Regions from separate parts of the Homo sapiens genome. Here region 2 is linked to region 1. Evidence: promoter capture Hi-C in human tissues and cell types (Jung and others, 2019). All regions are on one chromosome and are shown on one strand. Each heading gives the region's core, a stretch centred on a gene start or on the middle of the fragment in contact. The rest is flanking DNA. Distances are from core to core; before and after follow the strand shown. Region 1 holds the start of MED30 (mediator complex subunit 30). Region 2 has its middle 120 kb from the start of SAMD12.

What was found. The method cuts DNA at HindIII sites, captures the fragments that hold promoters and counts their contacts. A contact is called where the count stands out against the background at its distance.
Region 2: a contact is called between a fragment that was not itself captured here and the fragment with the promoter of MED30 in region 1, in 1 of the 25 tissues and cell types used here (hippocampus).

Annotation. Positions count from the first base shown.
Region 1 is chr8:117,516,028-117,522,888 of GRCh38, forward strand. MED30 (mediator complex subunit 30) reads left to right here and starts at 4,686. Exons shown (of 4, transcript NM_080651.4): 1 at 4,686-5,026. The coding sequence starts at 4,850. LOC105375716 (a long non-coding RNA gene) reads right to left here and starts at 4,693. Exons shown (of 7, transcript XR_928569.3): 1 at 4,527-4,693; 2 at 3,012-3,150. The HindIII fragment of the contact is 5,716 bases long and covers 1,437-6,861 here.
Region 2 is chr8:118,742,017-118,748,328 of GRCh38, forward strand. No RefSeq gene overlaps it. Among named protein-coding and RNA genes, the nearest start is that of SAMD12, 120 kb to the left of the region's middle. The HindIII fragment of the contact is 3,609 bases long and covers 1-3,307 here.

The DNA of each region.
Region 1 (6,861 bases), core at 3,436-5,935:
ATGGTGTTGCCTCCTCTTCCTCTTTCTGTTCCTTAGTGTTCCCATTGGCTCTGTCCTGGAACAGCTTCTTCCTCACTTCTCACTTTATCCATTTTCCTCACCGTTACCCATGGTGGAAGGAAGTATAGTGCACATTTATTGAATGCTTAGTATACACTAGGAACTATAAGTGTGTTATATATAGCATCTCACTTAATCCTATCAACAATCCCAAAGCTAAATACCATTGTTATTGATGGAGGTTGGTGTCATCTGTCCACTGTTGAGTAATGCCAGGTTTGGATTTTAGTCCAGGACTATCTGACTCCATGGATTTTGAGCTTACTATCACACCCACCCACCTTTCTCTAACCATGTAAAAGGAAAACCCTACCAGGTCCCAGCACACACTCAATTGCTTACTGGATATATCCACTGATGATCATGCACACATTTCAAACCCAAGATGCCCCCGAGTAAACTCCTGGTTCTTTCATCAACTATTTATTGAGCACTTATTATGTGCCAGGCACTGCTGTAGGTGCTGAATCTACTGAAGTAACCAATAGAAACAATCTCTAATTTCATGAGATTTACTGTTTAGCTGAAGGGACAAACAGTGAAAGAAACAACATCAGTTTGAGAGAAACACTACAAAAAATGAAGCAGGCTAAATGGACAGAGAGATGGAGAGGGCTGTACTGTAGGTGGAATAATGGCCCCACAAAGATGCAAACCCTCTAATCCCTAGAAGCTATGACTATGTTGCATTACATGAAACAGGGAATTTTACAGGCGTGGTTAAGGTTAAGGGTCTCGAGGTGGGGAGTTTATCTAGAATAACGTAGATGAACCCAGTATCATCACATAGGCCCTCAAAAGTGAAAGGTTAGAGGTATGTGACAAGGACAATGGAATAAGATGCAGGAGAAATTTAAAGCATGAGAGAGACTTGCCTGCCATAGCTGGCTTTGAAGATGGAGGAAGGGACCACAAGCCAAGGAATGTGGCATCTCATAGAAGCTAGGAATGGCTGTCAGTTTACAATCAGTAAGAAAATGGGGACATAAATTTCTGCTGCTTTAAGCCACTAAATTCTGATATTTTTTTCCAGCAGCAACAGAAGACTAATGCAGGCTATTTTTTTTCTTTTTTTTTTTTTTTGAGACAGAGTCTTGCTCAGTCGCCCAGGCTGGAGTGCAGTGGTGCGATCTCGGCTCACTGCATGCTCCACCTCCCAGGTTCACGCCATTCTCCTGCCTCGGCCTCCCGAGTAGCTGGGACTACAGGCGCCCGCCACCATGCCCAGCTAATTTTTTTGTATTTTTTAGTAAAGACAGGGTTTCACCATGTTAGCCAGGATGGTCTCGATCTCCTGACCTCGTGATCCACCCGCCTCGGCCTCCCAAAGTGCTGGGGTTACAGGTGTGAGCCACAGCACCCAGCCTGATGCAGGCTATTTTAAGTAGGGTGGCCAGAAAAGGCCACTGTAAACAAAGCCTGGAGAGATAGCTGAGAGAAGAGCTTCCCAGGCCAAAATAAATGAGTCTGAAGTGAGATGAACTTGGAGTGCACAAGGAATAGTAAGGAGGTGTATGTATCTGGAGTGAGGGGAGAGCTGTGGGAACTGAGAGAGCAGGAACAGCCTAGGCCAGCACATGTGGAGGTGTGCAGGTCATGCAGCTTTGGATTTTATTCTAAGCACGATGAGAGGACAGGAGAGCAGGGGAGAATCATAACCTGACTTAGCTTGTAAGTTTGCCTGTGGGTGCTGTAATGAGTGTGGACTGGATGGGGCAAGTGTAGCAGGAAGGGAGTTCAATTAGGAGACTCTTGATTGTTATCCAGCATTCTAAATAAGAGAAGACAGCTTGGACTAGGTTGAAAGGGGTGAAGTAATTGGTCACATATAGGATATATTTGAAAGTCAGAGTTCATTCTATTTTCTGATGACTTGGAAGTAGGGTGGGAAAGAGAGAAGCCAGGATGGGCAACTAAATGCATGGTGGTGCCAGACAATGACATGGGAAAAGTGTGGTAAAGAAGGTTGGGAGGGATCAAGAGTTGGGTTTTCTTAGACATAAGTTTTAGATGCCAAATAGCCATCCAAGTCAAGATGTCAGGTTTTTAGGTATGTGAGTTTGAATTTAGGGACAGTTTGGATTGGCGGCATGTGGTAGGCAGATTTTAGTTACTCCCCGAAGATGTCCACATCCTAATTCCCAGAGTCTGTATGTCATGTTACATGGCAAGGGGCGATTAAGGTAGCAGACGGAACTGAAGCTGCAAAACAGCTGACCTTAAAATAAAAAGATATCCTGGATTATCTAGGTGGACCCGATGTAATCAAAATGATACTTAAATGAAAGAGAGGCAGAGGACTCAGAACCAGAGATATGGCATATTCAACTAGCCAATTCTGGCTTTGAAAAGGATGAAAGCTGGTTTTTGCAGTTGGTGGAAGTGGTCATGAGCCAAGCAATTGCGGCAGCCTTCTAAAATCTGGAAAAGACAAGGAAACAGATTCCTTCTGAGAGCCCCCAGAAGGGAACACAGCCCGCCAACACCTTGAGCGTAGTTCAGCGAGAACAATTTCAGACTTCTGAGCTAAAAAGCTATAAAATAATAAAAGGTGTGCTGTTTTAAGCCACAAAGTTTGTGGTAATTTGTTACATGTGCAATAGGAAATTAACATAAGGCATAATTTCTCGGAAACTTATTTTTTCTTCAGTGTATCCTGTCTTGGTAAATGACATAAACTTCACCTGAAGTTTCACATGAAAGCAGAAATACGTGCCATCCTTAATTCTTTCCTCTCCTTAATGTTCCTGATCCAGTTACTATCAAGTTCTCTAGATTCTACTTACTAAATATTTATTCAAAGTTACCCTCTGTCTCCTTTCTCTGCACAGGTCATGATCATCATCATCATTCCCCTTTGGGAGAGAAGACAATAGAAACCCACCATCTGTTCCCCATTTAGCAACCAGAATAAGTGTTCTAAAATGAATATTTCAAATTATTCCTCTCACCTTGAAACTCTTCAATGGCTTGCTATTTCACTCCATAAATTCTCAACTGCTTGACATGGGTTAGAAGATCCTCCAGGGTTGCCTCTGTCTTCAGCCTTATTTCCTAACACTCGTCCTCACACTGAACTTCTTCCAGATCCTAGAAAGCATTAGGAGGCCTCTTCACTTCAGGTGTTGGCACTGGCCTTCCTCGTCCTCATAGAAAAGACTCTATCATTCGTTACTCCCTTCCCTATCCACCTTCAGGTTCCACACTGCTCCCTTCAGGTCGTTCTCAATCTCCTAAATTGTTAGCACCCTGATATCAGGAACTTTTGCTTCAAGACGCTCATCACAATAGTGTTCTGTTTGTCCCCATGACAAACATGCTGCAGGGCTTTTGCCTGGTTTGTTCAGTACGCTATCTTCACTCCTAGCACCCAGCACATAATAGGTGCTCAGCCAATATTTGTCGAATGGTAATTACCGAAGACCTGCGAATTACTATGTTTAAAATCTCTACCAGGGTTCCTATGACATATTTAGTAACTATTTCCTGGAAAGTCCGTACAATGGAGCATTCAGATACTTCTAAAAAATGCAATGTTTGTGCCTATCACTAATTTTACATTCTTCACTTTTCCCCACTTTGGAGATGAACAGTAAGTGAGAGACATTGTGAGAGACATTTTAATTTCTCTTGCATTTATCATGTCACTCAACAATCATTCAATAAGTATTTATTGATACTTGTGCCAATCACTAGGTGTTGAGAATAAGTGAATAAAATAGTCTGTTTTCATGGAGTTGGCAGTGTGTGTAGATAGGGTGAGATAAAGTCTGAAAGTAAACAAACTGAAAGCTATATAAAATATCAGACAGTAGGCCGGGCGCGGTGGCTTATGCCTGTAATCCCAGCACTTTGGGAGGCCGAGGCGGGCGGATCACGAGGTCAGGAGATCGAGACCATCCCGGCTAACACGGTGAAACCCCGTCTCTACTAAAAATACAAAAAATTTGTCGGGCGTGGTGGCGGGCGCCTGTAGTCCCAGCTACTCGGGAGGCCGAGGCTGGAGAATGGTGTGAACCCGGGAGGCGGAGCTTGCAGTGAGCCGAGGTCGCGCCACTGCACTCCAGCCTGGGTGACAGAGCGAGACTCCATCTCAAAAAGAAAAAGAAAAAAAAATCAGACACTAATAAGAGCCAGAGTCAGAAAGAAGTGTGTGTGTTGATCATTTTTTTTGCTTACAGATACTGGGAAAACTCAAAGAATAAAACATCTGAGCAGGGACCAAGAGCAATCGGGGAGTCCGTATCATGTCACAGAGAAGCGTACAAGCTTAGGAATCTTGTTTTCTGAATTCGAATCGCAGGTTGCCAGTTACACCTGTATGCGACTCAACAAGTACTTTAACCTGTCTCTTAGCTGTTATACTACAAACCTCAGGCTTGTTAAGAGAAAATGCTCCGCAAGGAACTAAACACAGAAGGTTCTAACGCTGAGCCAAGACTGGGAAACGAACTCTGGGAACTCACCCCAGGCTCCCCAAGAACATCGCCCCTCTGGCTGGAGCGCAATTGGTGATTGGCTACTTAACCCGTCCGTCCTTTCCCGCCCAGGGGTCCAATCCAATCCAGCCCGGCTCCGCTCGGAGACAGTTCGCCGAGTGGGCGGTGTCTATGACGTTTTCTGACGTGTTACGTCACAGTGGGCGGAAGTCGCGGCCGCTGTTTTGAAATCGGGCCGCGGGGGGTCTCTCAAGCTGGTTCCAACGCTGAGGCCCCACAGCCTCCCAATTCCGGGCAGACCCCTGACACCTGCTGTCTGGCCCCTTCCGGCCTGAAGCTGCAGCCGCGCCATGTCCACCCCTCCGTTGGCCGCGTCGGGGATGGCGCCCGGGCCCTTCGCCGGGCCCCAGGCTCAGCAGGCCGCCCGGGAAGTCAACACGGCGTCGCTGTGCCGCATCGGGCAGGAGACAGTGCAGGACATCGTGTACCGCACCATGGAGATCTTCCAGCTCCTGAGGAACATGCAGGTAGGAAGGCGGGCGCGCGAGGCCAGGGGGATGCAGCTGGGAGGGAAAGGGCCTCTGGTTTCCTCTTTACGTGGGGCCCGTGGATGTCATCGGGGCTGCCCTGGGCAAACCTTAGGTGTAGGGTCTCCCCCATTCACACTCAAGAGTGTCCCCAAAAGTCGGATTTGTAGAGGTGATGTTTTCCAGACCAGATTTCTGCAGAATTGAAGCCAATTTTTTTTAGATTCAATCGAGCTCTTTAGTTACTCTGTAAACTCTTGCACCTTTCAAGGCAGAGATGGGTCGCACTCCACTTCCCTCTTTAGGTTGCTTTAAATGTTTTTTCCAGCATTTCTTCTGGGGAGGTCCAAGGAGTTGAAGAATTTACATTTTTTTTAAAAAAACAGTCCTCCTTTTTTTGGCATAGTTAATATACAGTAAACTACACTCACCTAAAGTTTTGATATATATGTGTACTGTAGTCTGTATACTTGTGAAATTATCACCACAATCAAAATAGTGTACACATCATCCCAGAAAGTTTCTTCATACCCCTCTGACATCTTTGCTTCCCACCTTCCATCGCTAAGCAACCATTGATCTGCGTTCTGTAATCATAAATTAATTTGCATTTGCTAGGGTTTTATATAAACGGAGTCTACAGTATGTGGGCTTTTTTTTTTGTCTGAGATCCTTCACTAAGAATGCATCAATAATTTCCTTTTTATTGCTGAGTAATGTTCCATTGTATCCATGTATCACCATTTGCCTACCTTTTCTTCTGTTGATGGACATTTGGGTTGTTTCCACTTTTTGGCTGTTGTAAATAATGCTGCTATGAACTTTTGCTGACAAATTTTTGTGTGAACGTATGTGTCATTTCTCTTGGACAGATTCAGGAGTGGAATTGCTGGATCATGCAGTACATGTCTGTTTAATACTTTAAGAAACTTTTCCAAAGTGGCCTGAGCCATTTTACGTCCCGATTATTGCTAGTGGGAATGTAAACATTGCTGTTTGAGGGTTCTAGTTTCTCCTCATCCTCATCAACACCTGTTATGTCTTGATGCTTTCCAAATACTTCTCCCAGTCTATCCTGCCTTTTTATTCTCTTAATACTGTCTTTTGAAGAACAGACATTTTAAATTTTGATGGAATCCAGCTTACTGATTTGTTCTTTTATAGATTTTGGTTTTGCTGTCATACCTAAGAAATCTTTGCCTAACCCAAGGTGACAAAGGGTTTCTGTTTTCTTCTAGAAGTTTTGTACTTTCAAGCTTTATATTTAGGTCTACAACCTATATTTAGTTTTGTGAGTTTTTAAATATGTATACATAGTGGCAGATACGGATCCAAGTTCATTGTTTTGCATTTGGATATCCAGTTGTTCCAGCACCATTTTGCTGACCCATTTTTAATGCTTGCTTATATTACCCACTACATGTAGTAGATATTATTTTTGTTTTACAGATGAAGATTCTGTACTTCAGAGAGATAAAGTGACTTGCCCAAACCTAGTCAGTGGTAGGGTAAATTTGAAACCAAGTTTTCAAAAATCTTACAGCTCTTATTTCTGTGGGTGTCCAAAAAAGTGTTTTATTGCTTTTTTTTTTTTTAACTGGTCAAGACTTTTTTTTTCGTCCTGATTATAAGAGTAATTCAGTTTCGTGGAAATTTTTAAGACCATGTGAAATATAGTACAAAGGAGATCCAGGAGAAATTATGACATTCTTTGGCAATAATTTAAAAAAATGAATAGATTCATATCTAGAATGAATAAAGTACGGATTAAATAATGTCTCAGAATTTAGCATACTTTAAAAAAAATTTTGTCCTGTTATATGCAAAGCACCGAA
Region 2 (6,312 bases), core at 253-2,752, 1.2 Mb after region 1:
CTGTTTTCATGGCTTTACATTCCAATACTAGAATATAAGTAAAAAAGTGAAAAAAAAGGAACAAGATAATTGCTGATAGGATCAATGGTATGAAGCAAGTAAAATGGAGTTATGAAATCCAGAAGGGAAAGGACTGATTTTCACAGGGTGCTCAGGAAGGTGTACTGGCCTGAGGCAGTGATATTCTCTGTGACACTGAAATGAAAAGAAGGAGCTGGACGTGCAAGAATATGGTGCCATACAGAGAAATAAGCAAATCTGAACTCCTAAGTGGGAGCAGCCTGGGAGAGTTGGAAGAACAGAGAGAAGGCCAGAGTGCCTGCAGTATATTGAGTTGTGGGAAGGGAGGAAGCTGAGAGAGTGAAGAATAAGTAGAGGCAAGATTATGGAAGGGCTTTGTAAACCATGCTATGGGGTTCAGGTTTTATTCTCTGGGTCATCCCTGGAGGTTTATAGTTTAGAAAGATCATTCCAACTGTGCTGCTGAGAATTGAAGATGAAGAGGCAAAAGTGGATGCTGGGACCATTAAATAGGCTATGGTTGTAGATGATAAAGAAAAATGAAAGTGGGCTGGACTCTTGGACTCCTCTGGCCCCTGTAGATAAAGAGAGGTGGAGATAGTTTTGGATTTTGAGGTAGGGCTGCCAAGACATGGAGACGGATTGGGTTTGGTGAGTGAGAGCGTAGAGCTTGCGAGGATGATTTTGTACAATTGGGGTTCAAGCAACTGAGCAGATGTGTGGCCATTTATAAGATGGGGAAGCTTGGGGGAGAAACAGGATTTGGGGATAAGAAAAATTACATTTGTATAAGTGCAGAAATATAATAGTTATTATATACCCTTGGTTTTATAAAATTTGAAATTTGATTCAGTTCCCATAGGCTTTAATGAAGAAATTTGTGTTGATTAACAGCAGACAGTGCCTTCAGTGTTGACTTTATTGCTTCTACAATGAATAAAGCCCTTTCAAGAAGTTTAGTTTTATTCCGCTATCAGGGTGTTCTCTATGGGAAATTCTTCCTTGTTGTCTATTCACAATTATACAAGGTCCCATTCTTTGACATGGAAATAAGCAGCAACGCCCACTGAAGTCAGCAATAGAAACTTGGCTTCCATTGCCACAAATTGTGCAGGTCCACACATCCTGAAGATAAGACTTGGAAAGAAAGTCAGGACTGAGCAAAAGTGCCTGGCTCTGATTTTAAAGGCGAGCTCATATAAACATCTCTTACGCATGATTCTGATCCTTAAACATTGAGGCATGGCTTTTATAATGAGAAAAAAAGTCTCTCATCCCCTAAATGTCAGTGCTTATGTTTTGGTCACTTGGGTTCCAAAAAAACACAATCTTTTAAAGAGAAAAATGTTACAGACATTGTCAGTATCTTAAGGAAGATCCCTCAACCTGTCATTGGTGTTAGTGTCCACACACAAGTGGCTTCACAAGGTAGGAACTTGTTGCTGGAGTCAGTGAGGTTTGGTTTCTCATTTTATGCTACTGGGTTCTGCTGTGGTCATAAGGGTAGTAGCTGATAATCCCATTTCCTCACTGTGTTGAACACTTGGAAGTCTGCCATAAACCAATTTTCTGTTTTTCTTTAGCTTTTCCAGAGTAAAAGAATTTTTTTTTTTTGGTGTTGAAGATGGACAAGGTTTATAACAAAACTTGTTCTTCATTTCTCCAGAGAAAGCTTTTGTTTTCCAAACAAGTACTTCTTGATTATTTTACCAGGGAGTGCATGGTTACCATCCTGTAATGTCAGCCCCATGCCAGCAGATGGCAGTCACACCACACCACGCTGTGGCAATCAGCTAAGCTTGAGAACACCAGGAATCTGTCCTTTTCACAGAGGAAGGGTCTGATGTGCTCTGTGCCATGGCAGGAGGGGTAACTAGCACGGAGATGAATTCCAGAGAACTCACTACATAAGTCTATAAATTTGTCCCTAAACTTGAAGATATTCTTAGTTGAAAAAGGAAACAAAACAGAGGGAAAAACAAACAAACAAACAAACAAAAACCCAAACCTCTAGCTAAGTCTGTCAAAATGAGCTATGAGGTGGACAACCCAAGGTCTTGAGCTTATGCTGGGCTTTGTTTCACTGATACATGGATCAATATAATCATAGTCAGGGAGCTGGCATGAAAGCAGAATGGCTGAGAAAATAAGACTGGAAACGACTAACTGCAAAAGTATTTTATTTTCAGGAGGATTAACTGCTTCTGGGGTGGCTGAGTGTGGTAGAGGAAAAACAGAAGAAACTCCAAGGTGAAATTAGAAATCTTAGAAGAGCTCTTCTTTCTCCCATAGAGGTAACACAGTATTTCCAAGAAATTATTGATAGTAGGAATAAGGATTTCCCCCAGACGGAAAGGAGACATTGATGTACTGCGGGCATCCCAACTTCTACCTCATCATGCGTTTCTGAGTTTCTTCCACCATGACCCTGATGGTTTTGGTTACTCTCTCCTTCCCACTAGTTACGTGGTTGCTCTGCTTTTAGTTGAAGTTGTGCTGACTTTGGGATAGGTGTAGGGTTAAATGGTATCAAGAGGACATTCCTATTTATTGACCTACAATGTGGTTTCTGTACCTGAGCAAAAGACATATTTTTTCTCTATATTTGAGTTGGTCTTTTGAGACCGGCAAAGCTGTGGAAACAAAGCTTTGCTTAAGGAAAATGGCCACAATCTATTGTTAGAAAGAAGCCTCAAGTACCATGAAAATGGACCACACAGGTCAGGGATTTCTCAAAATGTTTCTTTTCCCAGGAAAATATTGAAACTAGGACTATTGTGGAATTACACAGTTTATGATTGCCACTTATGAACTACACCGGAATCAGGCTTGAAGGGTTCTGAACCATAAGAAACTTCCTCTGGAAATGAATGTGGTAGCTGAGTCCACATGTGTGGGAGGCCAACTGCATAGCTGGGAGTTGTCACAATTAACTTCTGCAGATAATTCCATGTTTATTAAATAAGTGATTTAAGTGTGACACTATTGTATGTGCAATGTCTCTTTTCTATCTGGTGGAAATTCTTATTCTTACTATAAAGAATTCCTTTGGAAATACTGTGTCATTACACAGTTTATGATCAATGGGTTATCATAAACTGTATAACTATCTGCAGCTATTTACAGATAGTTGCTATCTGCAGAGCTATCTGCAAAACTGTGATGTAAAACCATAAAGGCATTCGCAGCTTATTGTTCCTATTGCCCTTTCTATGTTTGTTGAAGGTTGAGGGTTTGCTTATTTTCCATCCTAGTAATTGGATAGTTATATGATCATCCATCCATATTTGAGTAGAGGTCGGATACATATGTCCTCAGTGTTCCAGCCAAGGTCTGGACAGTGGAAACAGTCCATTTGGGGTGCAGACAATGAGGGGGTACATTACCCATACATAACTTAAATACGCAATAAAATTGACTAAAATTTAATCTGCTTTTAAATAGTCACCATGCTCAGAAATTCTTAAGTACCATTAATGAAAAGATCTTTTTCTGGTCTAATTTGCAAACATTTGCTGTGATTGCAGCTGTGTTTCAATAATATATATGCGTGCTTCAAATTAGCACATTTAAATCACTTATTTAATAAACATTGAATTCTCTGTGGAAGTTAATTGTGACAACTCCCAGCTATGCAATTGGCCTCCCACACATGTGGACTCAGCTACCACATTCATTTCCAGAGGAAGTTTCTTATGGTTCAGAATCCTTCAATCTTAATTCTGGTACAGTTCATATTTTCAACCCCCATGATACTGTATATTCCTGTATTTAGACAATGCATTGGAGATAAACAAAGATAGCTATAGTAATTTTTCTTATCTGAATTATATTTTGTTTCTGGTTTGAAGTTGTGGGCAAAGTTAACCAGACACAAAAATGTTTGCAGACAGCCAGAAATGGTTTAATGATGTACCAGAAACAAGCTTCAAGCTTGTTGCTGGAAGACGGGTGCATAGAAATAGTGAAAAGGCTATCAACTATGAAAAATGTAAGGAATTGGACATTACATGGGAAAAAAATCAGATCAGAAAAAATTGCCCATAGAAATAACAAAGATGCCACTTTCACATTGTCAGAAGAAATCAGAAGTCAATGTCTGAATGTCCTGATCATTTTCACCAAGATTTGGACATTAGTTCTAAAGCAGAAGGAAGACTTAGAGAAGTTTTTACTAGATGTAATAGAAGTTTATGATGAATTTCTGCTGAAAGTATTTTAGGGGAATTTTTTTGACTGTCAAAATATTTGAAAGGGACTAGAATGATACCAAAAAAACAAAGATATGAGAAGTATGTGATTTCTGGAATTTATTATGAAACGGAATTTTTATGAAAAGTTGCCAGGATTAGACTTAGGTTAAGAATTTTCTTAGCTGTTTGTATCTCTGCTGTTTCATGTGAAAGAAATTTCATGAGATTAAAATTAATAAAACATGTTCTTTCATCAACTACCAGGGAATAGATGGACAAAAAAGCATTTATTGTCTATTGAACATGAATATGTGAAGAAAATTAATTTTGACAAAGTTTCTGAAAGATTTGTATATAGTTAAGGCTGGAAACAGAAACCAGACTCACACAGTGGCTTGCGCCTGTAATCTCAGCACTTTGGGAGGCCGAGGTGGGAGGATTGCTTGAGGCCAGTACTTTGAAACCAGCCTGGGCAACAAAGTGAGACCGTATCACCATAAAACATTTAAAAAATTACTCAGACATGGTGGCACGAGACTGTAGTCCTAGCTCCTTGGGAGGTGAGGCAGAATTGCTTGAGCCCAGGGGTTTGAGGCTGCAGCAGTGAGCAAGCATTGTACCGCTGTACTCTGTACTCCAGCCTGGATGATAGAGTAATACTCTCCCTCTCTCTCTCAAAAGAAAAAAAAAAAAAGAAAGAAAGAAGGAGAAAATAATAGAAACTGCAATTTTATTGTTTACTATTATAATGGACCAATATTTAGGTATATTTTCCCCTTTAAAAAACACAGCATTGCAATTAACACAATTAATTTATTACTTTTTATATTCTTATTTTATTTTTATTTAAAAGTACATTAAGGCATTATATTTTTATTTAAAAATAAATTAAGTTGTATAAAAGAAAAAATACTACCCTGCTTCTATTATATGACCAGGTTTTCTTGCGATATGTGTTACATGAAATACTCTTTTCCTATCAAAAAATGGGGTATTAAAATGATTCTCCAGATGCCAGTTATGCTAGGTAAAGTATTCCAGTCTTTCACCGTATTGATTGATCATACTGGGCTAGGCTATTCTATAGTAACAATTAAACTCTGACATCTCAGTGGTTTAACCCAATTAAAATTTGTGGCTTCCCAGCACAGTCAAATATGGAAGCTCCTGATTGGATGGCAATCCTGGGTGGTTGTCTGCAAGTAGAAGCTCAAGGGCTCACCATGTTGAGCCTCTGCCATGTTGTCACTTCAAAGTGACAACTAACGCATACAGAAGGAAAAATGAGAGACGAGAAAATGTTGAAGATCAGACAAAATATTTTATGGACTGGCCTGAAAATAGCATGCATCACTCTTGTTTACATTCAGTTGGTCAGATCCAGCCATATGGTACTAACTGAACTGCAAAGAGGGCTGGAAAATCTATTCTTCCTGAGTGTAGAGGAGGAGGAAACAGGATTGGGCAGCATCTAGCCAGTTCTGTCACTCCATCTGTGTTCAACCTACTGTCTTTGCATTTGTATGCCATTGCCATAGCTCATTAAATGGTGTCTGCAGTCTCCTTGTTACCAACTGTATAATAGAGTACTACTAAACAGTCAGTGGTTTTCATATCAAGCAAGCGAACTCCTTTTTTTTCCACATAAAATATTCTCCATAAACTAATGCATTAAAAATTGATAAATACTTTGCTGTTCTGGTTGGAGGAGGAATGAACATTCAGAAACATTTCATTGATCTTTTCATTAACTCACACACACTTCCCCCTCCCTTCCCATCCCAGCCATTCCTGGAATCCTCAGCTACTTTTCTGTAATTCCTGGGTTCTGATGAACAGAAGTTGAAAACCATTGCAATGGGCAGAGTTGGGCCATGGAAGCTTTTTGAACAGGGAATGTTGTTTAGAAAGATCCAAGTTTAAGCTGCCTCCCCCTGCCCAATACTCTTCAACTTCAAATTATTCAGCTCTACTCAATGCTCCCTGAAAGACTCCTACCCATTTAAACCTTTATATTCATAAAATACAGGCTTTTAATATTGTTCTTAATATTGAACTTGTTTTTATTCACTCAACACTGAGTGCCAGGCATCAGGAA